Linked DNA regions of Homo sapiens: all the other regions are linked to region 2. Evidence: promoter capture Hi-C in 16 types of primary human blood cells and fetal thymus (Javierre and others, 2016). All regions are on one chromosome and are shown on one strand. Each heading gives the region's core, a stretch centred on a gene start or on the middle of the fragment in contact. The rest is flanking DNA. Distances are from core to core; before and after follow the strand shown. Region 1 overlaps PLCB1 (phospholipase C beta 1). Region 2 holds the start of BMP2 (bone morphogenetic protein 2). Region 3 has its middle 76 kb from the start of HAO1. Region 4 overlaps HAO1 (hydroxyacid oxidase 1).

Region 1 (4,803 bases), core at 612-3,111, 2.0 Mb before region 2:
TAATACAGTTTGCTTTCTATGGTACATGTATTCTATTTTGATATACAAACACTCTCTCAGGGTCTCTATGACCCCGAAAACAGATATACTATCTATCCCTCCTTCATCTTTCCCTCCTTTCCCAAGCCGCGACTCTTCCATGCAATGCGTGGCCAGCACATAGCTCAGTGATCTTGTGTTGACATTTTTCCCAAGGCCAGAGAGGACCTTGCAGAAGTCAAAGAAGTTAGGAGCTGGGGCAGGAACTCTGGGGCTTTGGCAGCAAAGTCACTACATAAAAATCGTGAAGGGCCAACTTTATCCTATGATTTGTCTGCAAGCTTATTTGATGGATGTATTGTCATCACAACGAAGTGCATATCGTAGAAAATGCTGATATTATTTTTAAGAGGGCAGGATAACATGGGTAAGTCCTTAAATATCAGCATGATTGGAAATCTAACTCCATCAGAAATAATTCAGCTTCATATGTAGCCAATATACACTCATTTAAATGAATTGTTTTTCCCCTGAAGAATTAATGGACATTTCTGCTAGGTTAAATATTCATATCAGTATGAAGCATTACATTCTTCCATAGCTATGGGCTTCAGTCAGACCCAGAAATATCCGTTATATAAAAAAGATTTTCAAGTAAAAAGTCAGCGAGGTTGTTCTAAATGGTTCGAAAGTTCTAAATTGATTTAACTACTATCTTTCAGGGCTCACACAATGCAATAGCACGATGAGCCCAATAGATGGCAATAATGGTTCAACAATGAAGTAACTTGCACCCCTGCCCACTGCCAGCCTTCTGAAAGTTAGCTGCCCTACTCGATTTATATAAATGGAGACAGTACCACTGCACTGTCCTCTGAGAAGCTTATAAAAGTTTTCATTTGGCTGACACAGTTCAATTACTGAATGACAGTAGTGAAAAAAGTATTGCTTAAAAATCTCCAGGGGAAAAAAGATTTCTGGGACCAGCAAGGGTTTTTATGTATTGGATTGTTTATTAAGGAAAGCCACATACAACCACTTTATAATGCTGATATTGTGTTAGTTAATAAGGTGAATCGATTATATTTTGGATAGAAAACGTATCTTACTACAATATTAGAGACACATTCTTTTAGGGTATTGCCACTTAAGCATTTTTATAATGAAATTTTTGTCCCAAGTTCTTATTACCTTTTTTTTTTAAAAAAAAAAAATCAGAGAGGGGATTCTTTTAATTAAATAATTAAAAAATTGTTTGGCAGAGCTTTCTATAAAATACTTCATGGGACCCAACAATTCGCAGTCATTTCAAATAGCCAATCAGGTCATTCTTTAGTGTCTGTGGGAAAGAAAGAATTTGTCTTTCTTTACTGTAAAAAGCAGAAACCTGATTTTTCTCCTGTAAATCTTTGGAGGGATGTTGGGGGAATCTTGTTGAACTATAAAAAATATCTTAGGTTACCCTAGTTCCTTAGGACAAGTCTACTAGCAAAGGGCTGAATCCTGCAAGAGGCATCTGGCCAACAGGGGCCATGATAAGTAAACTAGCTTTGAAATACAATACCTGTCACGTTTTTCAAGTTACTTGAGTTCCCAGTACTGTGAACATCTACGAACCAAATGGTAAATTAGCGGTGCTCTTTATTCAGGTACCTACATATTAAAATGTCCAAAAGTTTCCACTGATTGCATAATAGACAACAGGGCTAGCTTAGGAAATCTACTGAATAACTAACAGATTGTTGCCCTTTCTCTATATTAAGCAATAATGTTCACTGCCTGTAAAAATCGTCATTTGTGTTATGCATCCTGTTAATAAGAGGCAGAGAACTGGTAGTGGGAAAGGCAGATGGTAAAAAACACAAGCACCCACATGCAAAGGAAGACAAGGTTTGCTTGCTATCATTCAACGGATAGAGTTGTGTTAGGAAATAGGTGTGAATGAAAGGCCTGTTAATGATACTCACTTCCAAACTTCAAAGAGAACATTTTTACTGAGTACAGAAATTATTTTTGAAAAAATGTTGAAAGACATGCACAATAATGATGAAAGTACACATTCAAAAGCTACAGGACAAAACCCTTTCAAAGAATTATATAACGTCTGTTGATAAAGATTTTAATCGAAACAATAAAAAAACAGGCAATTGAGACAGAAAAATAGAAGAAAAGATAAATCAGAGTCTCAGGCTACTTTTTTTTAACCCTGATTGTCCTAGAGTTTATATTTTAATTATTTTAAAATCTTATAACTGATGTATAACAGGCGTACAGAAAAGTACACGTCGTAAGTCCACAGTGCAAAGAATTTTCACCAAATAAACGTGTCTGAGTAAATGATATCCAGATCAAGAAACAAAATATAACCAATCTCTAGAAGGCTCTTGGGCTCCCTGCTGGTTGCTTTTCTTCCAAGGGAACCCATTATCCTGACTTCTAATAAATAGCATAAATTAGTTTTGCCTGTTTTTGTGTGTTATATAGGTTAAATCATACAGTATGTAGTTTTTGTGTACCTGACTTCCTTTGCTCAATATTATGTTTATTTATAGTGATTCATCCATAGTTTTCATTTAGTTATAGATTATTCTCATGGCTGCATATTCTTTCTTTGTGTGAATATACCATAATTCATTTATCTGTTGACGAGTATTTGGTGTCCAGTATTTGGCTATTCTGAATACCTCTGCTTTAAGCAATTCTTGTACGTGTCTCTTGGTAAACCTAAATACACATCTTTAGCAAGCATATACCTAGGAATGGAACTCCCGAGGTACAGGGAGTGCATATATTCAGCTTTTGTAGACACTGCTAAGTAGTTTTCCAATTGATTGTTCCTATGTTTAACTTATAACTGAAAAACTTCCTACAGTCAAGCTTAAAAGTTTCTTCCACTTAATCACCCTGCAATCAGGAGATGTCTATAATGCGATTTTCAGATTGCCAAGCTTCTGACTGAACTTGGAAGATAAATCAGACTAAATGACAAATAATCCCAAGGAAATGAGTGCCACTGAATTCTTTTCTCATCAACCACAGCAATCTATTTCACCCTTAATTTAAAAGGAAAAGAAATGATATTAGGCATCCTCTAGGAGCTTCAAAAGATAATTTAAGTAATTTTGCCATGTCACAGATTTTAAAAAGTTCTTTAAAACATGAAAAAATTGAAATGCCCAGAACTCTTCAGCATATCATCAATGACAATGCATCCAGTGCTCAGTTCTATAGTTAATATTTCCCATTATGAAGCTTAAAGTCATATGGTCACTCTGAAGACTATTTGGCTTACATGGTAGCCAGAATAATGACCTCCCAGAGATGTCTCTGCTCCATGAATATGTTAGCTTGCATGATAAAAGGGACATTGCAGGTGAGATGGAGTTAAAGACCTTGACATGGGAGCAATTATCCTGGATTATCTGGATGGATCCAATGTAATGACTTGAGTTCTTGCCAGCAGAGGACATTTCCTGCCTGTGGTCAGAGGGAGATGTGACCACAGGAGAAAGGTTAGTGAAATGCAGCCTTGCTGGCTTTGAAGCTGGAAGGAGCCCCAAGCCAACGAATGTGGGTGGCCTCTAGAAGCTGGAAAAAGCAAGGAAACAGCTTCTCCCTTAGCGCCTCCAGGAAGGAACACAGCCCGGCTGACACCTGGAGTGTAGCCCAGTGAAACCCAGGGGGCTTCCTGACTTACAGGACTAGAGGATAATACATTTGTGCTGGTTTAAGCCGCTAAGTTTGTAGCAGCAAGAGAAAACCAGTAGTTCAAAACTGTGCAGAAATAGGAATGTTCAAAGTCCTTCTAAGCTAATTTCAGAGCAGCAAATTCTTTTTTTTTTGAGACGGAGTCTCACTCTGTCACCAGGCTGGAGTGCAGTGGCTGGATCTTGTCTTACTGCAACATCTGCCTCCTAGGTTCAAGCGATTCTCCTGCCTCAGCCTCCCGAGTAGCTGGGACTACAGGTACGTGCCACTATGCCCAGATAATTTTTGTATTTTTGCAAGAGACAGGATTTCACCATGTTGGCCACCAAAGACACGGGGTTTCACCATGTTGGCCAGGATGGTCTCGAACTCCTGACCTCATAATCCACCTGCCTCAGCCTCCAAAAGTAGTAGTATTACAGGCATGAGCCACCACGCACAGCCCAGAGCAGCAATTCTTAAACCAACACAAAACATGACGGGGAGAGCCCACCAGCCCCTCACCGGCTCCTGGGGATGAGGGCTCGAACATGCTGGAGGAGTCACTGTAGGTGTTGGAGGCTTGTTCTGAGAGCTTCTTTTTGCCGCTTCCTTCTGATGACTTGTGTGATTTCTTCTTATTTTTCACCAAAATTTTATACATTAAATCCATAGGGCTTGGAAGAGGAACTCCAGATTCCAGCTAATAGAAATGAAAGGCATATTCTTTAAAAATACTGCTCCCTCTTTCAGATCCCCTCCCCAGACCCCCAGATCAGCTGTGGATACCAAATGTCTAGACTTCTTCCCTACCTTCAACACTGCTCATTAAACTCTTAGTGTATCTTACATGGGAGCTAATTTTTTTTTATATCAAAGATATATTTTCATTACTATACTTTTTTTTTCAACATATTCTACATGAAGAAGACCATAGAAATGTACTGGTAGATTTGATGTACTAAATCTGAACATTTATGAATTTTCCAATGGAACATAGAAACCCAATCATCTTGATTTAGGACAGATAAGAAGGCCCTGGCCTGAATTTTTGAAGGAGGGAAGCCAGGCATCTGCCAGGAGGAGTTGGTAAAGACGGGCAGAAGCTTCCAGGTGAGCCCATGAAATCATTTTTTC
Region 2 (4,775 bases), core at 967-3,466:
ACGCTTAGCTCGTCTGACATCAGATTTGGGATTTGCCCTCCCCCCCAACCAAACCAGCGCCAATGACTGTCACTTTTTTGTGTGTGACACAGCGCTGACAGCCAATGCCGGGAACCTGGGAAAACCACCGCTTGATCTGACACCCTGCGTCCCCTATACAAACCCAAATGCGGAGTGCTGAGCGCTGTCTGGCATATAAACACACATAAATGGTGCATGTGACTTCCTTAGAGGCACTGTATAGAACTTCCTGACACACACACACACACACACACACACACACACACACCCTTATAGCTTCCAGACCCTGTAAGCTCAAGGCCACAACTTCTGAAGCCACTTATGACTTGTGTCCCAGGCCCCTACCCTCAGGGGTGTCTCGAAAGGCAGCTCCATCCCGCATCCCCACAGTGCAGTCAAGATACACATGTATCTTCCCGGGATTACGTAAATGGTGAATATCTATTAATGCACGTGTCAGCTGTTAAAAACACAGTACCAAGTGATCCTTCAGTACTGACCCCTCGCATTTCTGGAAACAAGTAGGGAGAACCCCAAACTCCTAGTACTTTCCTAAATGGGACACGGCTCTGAGCAAAGAAACCAAGTCTCCCGGAAACACTTGAAGAATGGAGATCACCATGGCAGAGCGGACAGGTTCTCAGCTAACGGGTGAAACCCAGGGGCTACCCTCTCAAAGGGATTTCTTTGACCCAAAAAAGTTTTTAAAAAAATTAAAAATAAATAAATAAATAAATAAAACACCTCATCTAAGTGTTAACAGCTCCAAAAGTATTCCAGGGAGAGGGGAAGAAAGAGGGGTGGAAGAGTGCGGGCCGGGAGGGTGAGGCTTACGGTCGCCCGGGGCAGCTGGAAGTGGGAGCCCCTGCAGGGCTCCGTTGCACGTGGACTGGAGAGGGGTCTGTTTACTTCTGGCCTGGACGTAAGGAAGGGCTCTACCGCAGTGGCTGCCCAAATCCCCCTCCCACCCACCACCCACCCCGGGCCCTGGCCCGCGTCCTCTACCTTTAGGAGACCGCAGTCCGTCTAAGAAGCACGCGGGGACACGTCCATTGAAAGAGCGTCCACATGGAAAAACTCTGGTCAAAGGACCTGGCGCAAGGACCGAATGTCCGTTCCTTTTCTTTGCCTCCTCCTTCTCCCGGGTGCCGGCCGCGCAGTCTCTCTTTTCACGCTGGGAACAGCGTCTCAGTGTCGGGCAAGGCCGAGGAGTGGAGGGGCGGTGGGGCTCGGAGATGGCGAAGCAGGCTCCGCTGGGGCAAAGGCACCGGCGCAAAGTGGGGTGCGCAAGTTATTCTCCCTGCAAGTTCAAGAAGTCCCCAGCCAAGTGCTGACACACAACAACAGCGAGCAGGGGGAGGAGTGCGGGGCAGGGAAGGGAAGGGAGAAAGGAGAAGCTGGTGCTGTCGTCCTCCTTAGGAACCAGCGCCCGAGGGACGCGTGGCCCCGCGCGGGGCCGGCTCCGGGACTCGGGGGTCGAGGGTCGGGCGCTCCGCGCTAGCTCCGCCGCGGCCCATGGCTCGGGGCAGCCATCCTGGGCGACGCCGGGTCCAGGGAAGGGCACGGCGGCGATCTCGGTGCCAGGCGAGTTGCCCCCCCGCATCACTCTGCCTTACTCCAGTGCACCCCCATTCGCGCTCGCCAGTTGAAAGCACCGCGGCTCTGGCGCCCCGTCGTCCTCGGGCGCATTCTCCGGCGAGTCGAGCCGAGTCCCGGGCCGCCGAGGCGGGTGGCTGTGCTCTCCCCTCGCTCTCCTAGCCCTGGGGCCAAGTGCCCTTTGTGGCTAGCCTGGGGTCCGATCACACCTCGGCCAGCGCGTCCCAGGCCCCCGATCTCCTGCAGTAGGTGCTCCGCATCGCGGCGCTAGGGATCGGCTCCGGAGTCCCCGGCGCTCTGCGCGCCCGTCCGCGGCTCTGGCGCAGCCCGGGCAGCAGAGGCCACGGCGCTGTGGCGCGCTCTGCCGGGTGCTCCAGCCCGCGCGGGGTCTGCGGCGCGCGGGTGCCTCGCGGTCCCCGGTGATCCACTCGGCGCTGGCCCCGAGAACGTTCGGGTAGCCGGCGGAGGCTGTGGCGGCAGATGTGCGGCGGCGGCTGCCAGTCCCCGGCGGGGTGTGGGAAGCGGAGCGACTAGCGCAGCGCGAGCCGGGCGCAGCGCGGCGGGGCGAGGACTCCGGCGGCGGCGACGGCGGCGGCGGCGCCGTGGCGCGGCGCTCGCGGCTTTTAAAGGGGACGCCGCCTGCCGGCTCCCTCCCGGCCGCGGCCGAACACCTCCCCCTTCGCGGCGCGGCTCGCCGGGGATCCCCGAGCGGGCGGGAGCTGCGCGCAGGGGTGTGGACGGCGCGCCCGGGCAGCCGCGGCGGGGTGGGGCGGAGGGCGGGGGCGCGCGGCCGCCAAGGGGGGCGCTCGCGCCTCCACTCCCTGCTCTCAAAGGAGAGATCAGCTGGCGCGCCGGACCCTCGCGGGGACTCTGGAGGCGAAATCCAGGACAAATGCAGGGTCAGGGTCTGGCCTCTTATTTCCCCGCTGGGCCCGTTATTCAACTTTCAGTTTGAAGTTTTTCGGTAATATACGATTTCAAAAAACAAAACAAAACAAAACACCTCAATTACAGCGTATTTTGGCATAGCATAGACGTGGGATCCACGCTTCTGTTTCCCCGGAATAGGAGGAAAATTAAAAGAAAACAGCAGGCTGGAAATTGAGTGTTTTTAAACATTAATACATAGAGATGTATGTATTTACATATGTAAATGCATGTGTACAAATTTTTTTACATAAATGTGTATGCATTTATTTTCATATCCATACGCATGTAAATTTATAGTTACATAAATATATCCAATATACAAAAATATGTGCATATATTTCTATAAATATATTCATGTATGAGAATATATGCAACCGAAGGGCCACATTTCGGTTAATATGTCTATGTATGTGACATGGATGTCATCCTGCTTTACGTGACATGTGTGTAACGTAGACTGCGTGTGTGGCAGACTGAAGGATGGATGGGAGGGATTTGATTTTTTTATTGTACAATCACTTTGTGCCTTGTGATATTTATCTCACCCAGCTCAGAGGCAGGCGATTAGCAGCTCAGAGGAAGGTAAAATAACGCACTGTGTGAACCAAGCATACAGGACAATTCCAGTTTGGGACCTTGGAACCTTCTACGCCACCCTCTTCCACCAGGCCCCCAAGAAGTAGGGCTGTGACACGTGGCCAAGTCACTCCTCAGCTGAATATTCACTGAAGTCACTCCTCAGCCGAAATACTGCTCAGAGCTGCTGCACGATGAGTCTGGGGCCAAGGCTTTCTGCCCTTCCCAGGATTCCAGGAGCCCCCATGCACAGCACCTCGGGCTTGCCCAAATGATCCCCAAAACCAAGGGCAGAAAATTTTTGGAAAAGGCCAAGTTCTGCTTTCCCAGAGCTATCGGGCCTGCGAAACAGAGAGAAAAAAGTCAGAAGCAGGAGCTGGTAATAGAACTATTATCCATGTGTATTATTTTTTCGGTAGGGGAGCTAAAATAATACTAGGTTCCGCTCACGTAAATCGGATTAGCAACCCACAGAGGCGAATTAGGCACTTGCTGTTTCTAAAGGTATAAAGGTCAAATAAGGTATTTTGGAGGAAGCCTGACTACCAGGAAAATAAAAGGGGGTGGGGGAATTATTCAGGAACATGCTACTTTATTTCCTGAAAAAAAAAAAAAAGGTGCTATAGAAGTTGATTGTCACTCAGAGTCATTGCACCGCAAACAAGGAGGCAATAAAACATATCCTACTCATGGACACAGGGCTTCTGAAATTATTTCCTTTCCTATCAAGTTTAATTGAGAAGTTAACAATTGTTTCTCTCATTACTTAGATTTCAAAAACAAAACAAAACAAAACTTCAATGAGATTTAAGTAGCTTTTAAAGAGGAGGAAAAGTTGATAACTATTGGATGCACCCGAAGAAAAAATAAATAAATATCCTGTGATGACCTCAAGGATGTCTTGCAGCTTTAGAACTTCATAACCTGGTAAGTGGAAACCTTGTCAGTTTAGAATCTGAGGGAAAATGGGTACTTCTGAACACTGTTTCATGTTAGTGCTGCCCATTGCAGAATCTCTTTTATGTAGGGTGTATGATTTCTGAGGAACTACTGAATGCTTGTTCCAAGCACAACTTACATAAATTTTGGCCCTATTTTTTTTTTTTTAGAGATGGCTGCCCTCTTGTGGTGGAAATGAGTTCGAACGCTTGAAAGAAAGAAGTCCATAAATAAATAAATAAATAAATAAGTAGTCTCCAGAGACTGATTTGGGATCGAAGTACAGGATGACTGTACCTACCCGTTTTCCAGGGAAGAGCAATAGTCAGAAATGATAAATCTAAATACAGACGAGCTATTTCTTTTTTTTTTCTCTCTCTTCACTAATGGCTACCTTCCACCTGCAACTTAGAATGCTGGGTTATTTAATACTTTGGGAGAGTGTCTGTTTGCCTTGAAAATATCACTTGCAGCTAACCATTGTCAATTCTACCGTTTTCAAAGGTCCATTCAAAGTTTTTCAGTTCAGAGGGTGAGATTCAGTCTTGCTGAGTTTATCAGACTTAGTGCATCTGCCAGCAAATGTGGAAGGGGCAGAGGTGGGAGTGGGGAGTTGTTTAAGATAGGGATAGTAGAAGTTGCAAATTCAAATGCATCAGAGGGTACAGACAAGTTATGTAAAAAAGCAAAGATGACCAGATAATGATTCCACA
Region 3 (4,633 bases), core at 1,639-4,138, 1.1 Mb before region 2:
GGAAAAAAAAAGACTGAATTTGAAAAGCCTTCTAGTACACTTTGGGGATTTCGGAAAGTGTCGTTTGGCTGGGAGCTGAGTGGAGAAGCTGCCATTCTGTAGATGGGATAGGAGGAAAGCCGCATGGCCTCATTCATAACTTCACAGCTACTGCAAATATCAGCTGATGAATATTTATGTTTTCCCTGGCTTAGGCCCGAAAGGCAAACAAGGGAAAAAAAAACGAAAGTTAGGAAAAGGTCGTCTGAACTCTGTGGGATTTTTTACCAGCACTTTCCATGCGCGAGCCGTAGCCCTGAATGAAGTCATTCTGTACAGGGGCCCGGCACAGGAAAACACAGTCTGTTCATTAGCTCCCCGCACTTTGTTTGAACCTTGTACATTCATGGGGTCCTGAAAGGGAAACTCCTTTTTAAAAAAATCAAACACACAGGATATAGAGCTACCTTATTATTATTTTGGTAAATTATTGCAAATTGCTCCTCATCATATAGTGACCTCAGTGGTTCATTGAAAGAGCAAGTCAGTGAAGGAGAGTTTAAAAAAAATTATATATTTTTTAAAGAGGGCCATTCCAGTTCAGGTTAATATTTTACAGAGTTACAGTTTCTAAACATATTTTAAAGTCTATATAAATAATATCAATACATTACTACATATCGTAGTAGAGCAAATTATTTTTTAAAAATGTACTCTAGATTTTAGTCTTATTTCAGGAAAAATAGCCTTTAAGCCCCACTGTAGAAGAAATAATCACGTCTTGATCACTTGGGTTTATTATTTAAATTCTGTTTTCCTCCTTTTACTTTTTCTTGGCCCATCAGTACTGCTTTCACCCTCTGCTGCCATCACTGCCACAGCTAGGTTGACCTGAGGCTATGGAAACAACACAAAAACAATTAACAAGATGAGGGATTTTTCTACTTGCCAATATTTCCATTATCAGTTTTGTTTCAGGAGAGGAGGCTCAAAAATTTGGCTGAAGTGAAATTTGTGACTGCCTTATGGATTTCAGTGGTAGATACATCATGCAATTTTCTAACATTCATAGAGAGGCAGGTGTCCTCAGTGGGGATCCCCAGAAATGTTCCCCTGTGATGAGAATGGGTGCCTAAGACTCATGAAGGAAGTACTTCCAGCAGACATGGGGAGGTGAGAGGGAGGAAACCAGACACAGAATGGAAGATGACAAGCAAAGGAAATGCCCAGCCTCAGCTGGGTCCTGCAAGGAGCTCTGCGGTATAGTTTTACCCAAAAGTTCGTTCCCATTTGAGGGTAAGGGCTGTCCATTTTTGGAGTTTGGTGTGGGGGGTGCACTGGGTGACCAGCTGTCCTGGTTTGCCTGGCACCATCCTGCTTTCACACTAAATTATCTTGAGATATCTTTTAGTCTTAAGCAAACTGGAATTGTTGGTCATCCTTGAAGCCTGTAAATTCCCAGGTACTTCTGACTCCCTGGGCAGCAAAGTGGCTCCAGTTGCCCAAGATCAGTCTTCTGAATGGAGTCACAGGTGCAAGCCATGTGAAACAAAGTCCACTAAAGCTTGTGGATGGGCATACAGACATGACAAGAGCCTCTGAATGGAGCTCAGCCATCTTCCCTGTAGCAGGTACTATCCTCTACCCAGTTTTCTAAGAAACAACATGGGGTCGATGGAGACTATTGTAGATGTGGGATTGAGGGCAGGAGTTGCAGATGAGGAATGCATTTCATTCTGTACGTCAAGTTCTTAGTCCTAGTGGGACTTAAGGACTATGATATGTAGGTTCAGGACTAGTCAAGATTTCCAAGCAGATTTATAGAGGGCATTAGCACTGAATTAAGTTGGCTACGAATCTGTAAGTGTGAAATTCACAGAGTGGACTTGAACAAAATCTCTGTAGTTATCAAGTGGGTAGGAGGTAATGAAGCAATTGCCCATCAGTGAGTCTCTCTCAACATGCTGCTTCTCTGGCCACTATGAGGTTCAGTTTTGGAAGTGCATGACATATATGTAATGAAAATTGAGGACATGGCGAATGTAGCTTCAAAGAGGATATAATGAAAATGAGAGTGAACATTCCCTAGCCCTGCCCAAGACAGGTGGAATCCCACATTTCTTTTGATTTAACTTCTAAGAGTTAACAATAACTACCCAAAATAAATAGCGAATATTAGTCAAAATTTACCTTTTTCTTGTCCTCTGTTCTTGCCTTCTAAACATAAGGGTGAGATTTTTTTTTGTTGTGTTTCTCTCTTGGCTTATAAATATAAAATACAGTGAGTGAGAAGTTGGTCCATTGACTAGCTTGGGCAGACATACTTGGTAATAGTTGCATGTATTTAACTTTGTGTGTTGGCAGTGATAACAACCTCAAGTTTCATGCTTGCTTCTTGCATTGTTTTGCCCAGTTTTTCAAGTTCCTTATGGAGCAGCTCACGTAGAGGATTTATTGTAGGAGTGCTTTCTTCTGCCCAAAGCAATACATTATCCACATGAAAGGATATCTCACACAGCCCCATGCTGCATTACTGCAGAGGAGAAACGAGGACCTGAAGAAATTGTTTCTAGCTAAATAGCTGTAGAAGAATTGCCCAAACAGTAAACATAGTACCCAGTAGGTAGTATTTCAATTCTTTTCTCCCCTTTTTCCCTCCTCCCTTTTGGAATCTCCCGTGTTTATTGTTCTCATCTTTGTATCTCTGTGTGCACAATATTTAGCACCCACTTAAAAGTGAGAACTTGCAGTATTTGGTTTTCTGTTTCTGTGTTAATTCACTTAGGATAACGGCCTCCAGCTGCATCCATGTTGGTGCAAAGGACATGATTTTGTTCTTTTTTATGGCTGTGTAGTATTCCATGGCGTATATGTACCACACATTTTCTTTGTCCAATCCACCACTGATGGGCATCTCGGGTGATTCCATGTCTTTGCTATGGTGAATAGAGATGTGATGAACATACAAGTGTAGGTGCCTTTTTGGTAGAAGAATTTATTTTCTTTTGAGTGTGTACCCAGTAATGAGATTGCTAGGTCAAGTAGCAATTCTATTTTTCATTCTTTCAGAAATCTCCAAGCTGCTTTCCACAGTGGATAAACTAATTTGCATTTCCACCAAAGTATATAAGCATTCTCTTTTCTCTGCAACCTTGCCAACATCTGTTATTTTTTGACTTTTTGATAATAGCCATTCTGATTGTTTTGAGGTGGTATCCCATAGTGGTTTTGATTTTCATCCTTCCGATGATTAGTGATGGTGAACATTTTTTTCATGTTTCTTGACCACTTGCATGTCTTCTTTTGAGAAGTGTCTATTCGTGGCATTAACTCACTTTTTAATGGGATTCTTTTTTCTTGTTGATGTGCCTTTTCCCCATTGTTTATTTTTGTCGAATTTGTTGAAGACCAGATCATTGTAGGTGTGAAGAATCTATTTCTGAATTACTTATTATAAATATTTTGGAAGGGCAAATACTGATGGTTGAAGACATACAAATTCACTAAAATTGAGAACGATAAAATTATGACTAGGCTATTAAAGTTATAGAGAGGTGAATTTATGGCATGGTAAAAGAATAATATTTATTGAAACACCATCTTAAAAATGGCACAGATCAAAAATATGGCTAGCTTTGCAACATTTTAGTTCTCATTTCATTACAGCTTTTGAGGTCTGAGGGAGAGCTTACCTAAGCAATTAAGCTACTGGTTAAGAAATTTTGTGTACATCTTAAGACTTTATATGACTGATGAGAGTTATTACTCAAGTACATAATACGAATGAGGATTTTGAATTGCAGCACATTGTAGGCAGTAAATAAAGACTTGCTGAATGAATGGATATTTTTTCTACCAATGATGAACTTCGATGCAAAGAAATGGCATGACTAAATGTTCAAGATATTTCTGTTGCAGGAAATTCATAAAAAGTAAGAGTAACTATCTATTTCTAAAACAACATCTATCAGAAATCAGTCTGGTCAGATTCTACCTTCAAATGTACAATGTCAGAACTAGAAAGGTTATGAAGACTAACACACTTTACTTTTTACCCTACTGACGACATTCTCTGAAAATTCAGTTTTCTTGAATGTCACTCTAATACCAAAGTATTTTCCCCAATTAAAGACCAAGTAATTATGTCATTTAGGGATAGCATTTTCTCTAGATAAAGTTTGGCCTCTCTGTTTTCACTTAACACCAAATGGATTACTTCAAATGGATAGCTACAGATCAATTAAATCAAGCTTTGAATTTTTAAAAAGTTTTACTGAATTTTTATATTTTCCAAGCATAATCTTCATCATGTGGCGAAGCTTTAATTACAAGATTACAGAAAGCCAAAGACTTCTAAGCCTTTAGGGCTTTGCTCATATTTTCTTCTCTTACTGCCCATTTTCCTCAATCAACCTGGTGAATGGATGGTTAGTGGACATAAACCAGGTTAATGCTTATGCCCTCATAATTGTTTTTTCTTACTGACCATGCTCTATACCCCTCCCTTTGGTGACCCTGCCTTCCTCTCTTGTGCTCCTGAAGCTTCCCATCATCATTCTGATACTATTGTGCCATAATTTCTGACTTTATGTATCTATATATCCTCCCTAGGATGGTGAGCTGTTTTAGGATAGTTCCTTTGTCTTTCGATTCA
Region 4 (4,677 bases), core at 142-2,641, 1.2 Mb before region 2:
AATGACAGACTTATTCTCCAAGTCACATTTGATGGTTCCAAGACCAGTCTTTATTCTTGGTGGAGTTGGGCTGAGAAGAAAGAGGAGAAGAAAGAAGAAAAGAAAGCTTCCTTAGAAACTATGATTTGACAGTGTAAGTAGGACTATTTCCTCCAGAAGTAACCATAAGAAGATATTAAATGCCTATTACAGTCTTATCCCCTTAGATTTATTTAACACTTATAAAGCAATTATCATGTTCCAGACACTATTTTAAGTATATTACGAGTATTATAGCATTGAAGGCTCAGAGCGGCCCAAATAAATCGATCATATTATTAAACCTATTTTACACAGGAGAAACTGAGGTACACGCCAGGTGAATAACCTTGCCTAGGGATGCACAATTCATAAGTGATAGAGATGGGATTCAGACAGAGGTATTCTGTCTCCAGAATCTGGGCTCCTCACCACTTTGCAAGAGCTTTAATTTCAGAAACTCCTATGAAGTGTCATGAGGAGAAGCCCATTATGATCCCCTAGAAGTAATTATAGTTTTAGGAGCATGCAAAGCAGACCCCTCAGGAAGATAAGTTACACAATAGACATTTGGATAAGGTGGATCCAGCAGAACAAAGAGAGGGTGGTGACATCGAGATTGCAGAGGAATTGGAGAAGGCAATGGAAGTGTACACATGTTGCCCTCAAAAACATAGGGTCCTCCATTGGGTTCCTATCAGGGCAGCAACATCAGAGTTTCTATTCTGTATTTATACTAGAAACCTCTCTCCAGGGTTTCTAAGTTTTCACCTATGTTTTAAAGACTATCTATAGGTTATTAGTCTATTTAATATTTAGGTGTATCCAGAAAGCTGATGGTCATCAGCTCATAGCAGGTGTTCTTTGGCTGGTGTGTTTATGTTGTGGGACAGTGGGTTACTTGCAAGGAAAGGATGAATGGCTGGAGTAGATGGTGCTTGTGCTCTGCATGTATTCCCTTCTTACTTCCCATTTCCATCAGACCTACCACTTTTTGCCTGACATTATCTGTTGCAACATGAGCCCATGGATAGGTGTGTTTGAAGTAGGGGAATGGGAGAGAGGGTTCCCTAGCTAATGATGTACAGCAGTAGGTGGATAAATACCTCAGCTCTCTTTGCTCAGGTAACTGAAGCATTTTCTAATATGGTCACCCAGTGTTCCTTGGAAGGATTGAGTCCCAGTTGCCCCCTGAGGTTGCCTGCCCATGAACACACCCTCTTTTATTGGCTTCCTTCCCATTCTTTTCTCACTTCCCCATTCCTTCAATTCATTGAGATTGTTTCCAAATAAGATGACTTGCTCTCACATCTCTGTGTCATTTTTGGCTTCTTGAAGTATGCAAACCAGGATAATAGCTAACTGAAGGCTATAGATAGCCACAGGCAAATTTAAGTAACAGTGTAAGAATATTCATACTTGGCAGAGATTTATTTATAAAAACTCAGAAAATTCACATGGAATTATGAAGTTATTATTGTATTTATTCCATCATTCCCAGAAAGAATATGGAAATCCTCTCAAGCAAGCCAGTCCTTGGGAATATTGGGAAATCTATGCAATTTGTTGTGGAGTATTTTTTTTTTTGTTACCCTCCTAAATATCTGGCCGCTAAGCATTCCTGTCTCCAGGGACTTAGACCCTAGCAAGGAAGAGAAGTTGGGGCCAGGTTCAGAAAACGGGTTAGTTATCAATCTCCCTGGAGAAGTGTCCCCCTCAGCAGGGTCAGTGAGAGTAAGTGAAACCCATTGGTGCCCACAGGCAATGGTCTGGCCTGAGTAATTAGAATGGGCCTCCAGAAAGTTCTGGGAATTGCTATGGTGCCATAGTCTCATTTTCCCCGTTGACTCTCCAGATTTATTCAGAGTCCAACTTCAAGGGCCTTTCTGCCCTTCCTCTCACAACTGTGGAATAATAATAATCCACCTTATTAACTGGGACCGAGAACTGAGCTCGACTCTTATTTTTTTGAGACAGAGTCTTGCTCTGTCACCAGACTGGAGTGCAGTGGCACTATCTCAGCTCACTGCAACCTCTGCCTCCCAGGTTCAAGCGATTCCCCTGCCTCAGCCTCCTGGGTAGCTAGGACTATAGGCACGCACCGCGACGGCTGGCTAATTTTTTGTATTTTAGTATAGACAGGGTTTCACCATGTTGGCCAGGATGGTCTTGATCTCCTGACCTCATGATCTGCCTGCCTTGGCCTCCCAAAGTGCTGGGATTACATGCGTGAGCCACCGCGCCCTGTCTGAACTCTACTTTTTTACACTGCTGCATGTTTGTAGAGTGACCAATGAAGCTATACTTTTTTCATTTTCAAAATGATGATGAATACAAGGTTATCAAATAAAACACAGAGGGCCCATTATGTTTGAATTTCAGATAAACAACAAATCATAGGTGTCCTGTATGTTTGCTCAATCTGGCAACCCTGGATGAATAAGAGCTCTCACCTGAGGATTTCTTGTGAGGATTCATGAAATAAATGCTAGAAATGCTTACACACTATCTTTATTTGCCCCTCAGAGCCCAAAGTCTCTGAAATCTTTATCTTTCACACACAAAAACTCACTTTCAGAAAAGTATATTCCATTTACATCTAGTGGAAATAAAAATTGTTCTTTTTCTTTGTGAAAAATATTTTTATTTTAAGCTTTATGCAGAAACCTCAGGGAAAAAAAGGTACTTTTAGGAGCCAGGCTTGTAATGTAAATGTCCAAAAAAGATGAAATTGAAACAAACAAACAAACAAACAAACAAACAAACAAACAAAAAACAGTGCAAGCTCCTGTGTGGAGACTGCAGTGAGTCTGAGATTGCATGTTCCATCAGAAGGGGGCAGCCACATCTTAGCTCTTGATGACCCAAGGGAGCAGGGATGTGGGGTTGCCAAATCTTCCAAAATTTTAAGAAGCCAGAAATCTTGATTTCTATGTACAATCTCCTGGTTTTTAAATGTGGGCAAATAAATCAAAATTCCCTAAAACACTGTTTGGGGCAACAATGTGTGGGCCAAAGTAAATACTTTTGTGGGCTACAAGTGTCCCCTAGGCTGTACATCTGGGACATCTGATTTATGTGGAAATTTACCGAGAACTAGTTTTATTTCTGTGGCAGGTCATTTTCACTTTCTAGGATTATGTTTCTTCATTGATAAAGTGAGCTACTTGAGCAAGACCAGTGGATTGAATGCCACGTCCCAAGGAGGCTGGGGTTGTTTCCAGGGATCTTACAGAACTTAGGTGTGATACTGAGCATGAGCTACTTGTGTTGCATTTTGGTGTTCAAAAGAAAAGTTCTTTAAATAGTTCTGCTGGAAAGACAAAAAAAAAAAAAAGAAAAAACTTTCACAACAAAAATCTCCAAAAACAAAAACCCAGAAAACTGGCATAGAAGTGGATGATCTTTGCAATTTTTTTCAGTATATAAATAAATGATTTTGATCCCATTTAAAATTTTATCAAATGCAAAAAGAAACAATTCAAAGTATAGAGCTACCTTTTCTTACTCTACTGAAATCTACACTTTATGTCAGCCCTGGAGGGTTTAGACGCACTTTATGTCAGCCCACTTCTTTCGACTGCACTATGTCAGCCTTGGAGGGTTTAGATGAGGCAGTGAGCATTTGAATGCTTTTAATTTCCATTTTTCAAAGTACATTCTTGGTCTATAGGAGAGGAACAAGATATGTAACTATCTCTGACTATTGCTAAAAACACAAACGTCTTTAATAAATGTTGCATAAACTCAGAAAGTGATACTTCAAAGTCTTGTGAAAAATGATGATCACCAGCATTTATACAGCAATTAGTATGTGCCACGCAATTTGACTTTATTATTTATTCATCTATCTTTACCACCATCTTAAAATATGTGAGTGCAAAACCCTGAGAAACTTTCTCCAACTCCTGTGGGTGTGGAAATCGAGGCTTAGAGAGGTTAATGCTTTGCTCAGATTATTAATCACTTAGGCAGTGCTACCTATAATATCCTGCTCTGTTACTGGTATTTCCAAACGTCATTAACTGTAGCAAGAATCCTAAGGCAAGCACTATGCTATCATCTTAAAATATTTATTGCAAACATCCTATGTTTTATTGTTTTATCTTTTTAACTTTGAGAAGATAAAATAAGCCACAGAAGTGAAATTAATTGGGAAATCATTCGCTTTTTGCAAAATTTGGGAGCATAAACAATGGGTCATGAATTACAATCAAACAAAAGATAAAATTCTAAGAAGTCTTTTAAAGTGGAAAAAAATAACTGAAAAATACTGAATGGAGGGCAGTTTTTCATGCACTGTGTTACGAATAAAAAATTTGATTCAATGGATTACTTAATCAACATTTTAATAGTTGTAAATCTTATAATATTTAAGCTGTTTTATAAGTGCCTCTACTTATAATGGCACATCCGTTTGAAACTCTAGCAGATCATTTTTATTTATTTTTTTGAATTTTTTTCTTTATATTCTTTAAAGAAGGATACAAAATTATTTCTATGAATATTTAACATATGGAAGGAAATAGCAATAATAAACATAAATGCTAACACATATAAAATAGGTGGTATCATTAGGCTAAATTTTAGTCTTCCAGGATAAGTAGAACATCTCTGACTTCTCAAATATCCAATTAATAAAATGCTTACTATACCATT

The links. Contacts are between HindIII fragments. The CHiCAGO score rates a contact against its expected background, and 5 or more counts as called.
Region 1: a fragment that was not itself captured here is called in contact with the fragment with the promoter of BMP2 in region 2 in 1 of 17 cell types (total B cells); the score reaches 7.4 in total B cells.
Region 3: a contact is called between a fragment that was not itself captured here and the fragment with the promoter of BMP2 in region 2, in 1 of 17 cell types (endothelial precursors). The highest score is 7.7, in endothelial precursors.
Region 4: a fragment that was not itself captured here is called in contact with the fragment with the promoter of BMP2 in region 2 in 1 of 17 cell types (endothelial precursors); the score reaches 5.0 in endothelial precursors.

What each region holds. Positions count from the first base shown.
Region 1 is chr20:8,717,237-8,722,039 of GRCh38, reverse strand. PLCB1 (phospholipase C beta 1) reads right to left here. Exons shown (of 32, transcript NM_015192.4): 14 at 4,192-4,369. Among named protein-coding and RNA genes, the nearest start is that of RNU105B, 110 kb to the left of the region's middle. RefSeq lists a silencer at 624-918. The HindIII fragment of the contact is 1,995 bases long and covers 864-2,858 here.
Region 2 is chr20:6,765,127-6,769,901 of GRCh38, reverse strand. It overlaps BMP2 (bone morphogenetic protein 2), which reads right to left and starts at 2,216. Exons shown (of 3, transcript NM_001200.4): 1 at 1,027-2,216. LOC105372517 (a long non-coding RNA gene) reads left to right here and starts at 2,418. Exons shown (of 4, transcript XR_937229.2): 1 at 2,418-2,581; 2 at 3,097-3,502; 3 at 3,894-4,050; 4 at 4,233-4,309. RefSeq lists cis regulatory regions at 1,537-1,711, 2,352-2,451, 2,458-3,248, silencers at 2,083-2,132, 2,223-2,272 and promoters at 1,162-2,321, 1,711-2,352, 1,162-4,775. The HindIII fragment of the contact is 17,330 bases long and covers 1-4,775 here.
Region 3 is chr20:7,862,080-7,866,712 of GRCh38, reverse strand. No RefSeq gene overlaps it. Among named protein-coding and RNA genes, the nearest start is that of HAO1, 76 kb to the left of the region's middle. The HindIII fragment of the contact is 2,686 bases long and covers 1,546-4,231 here.
Region 4 is chr20:7,927,174-7,931,850 of GRCh38, reverse strand. The region is part of intron 2 of HAO1 (hydroxyacid oxidase 1); the gene reads left to right. Among named protein-coding and RNA genes, the nearest start is that of HAO1, 11 kb to the left of the region's middle. The HindIII fragment of the contact is 2,565 bases long and covers 109-2,673 here.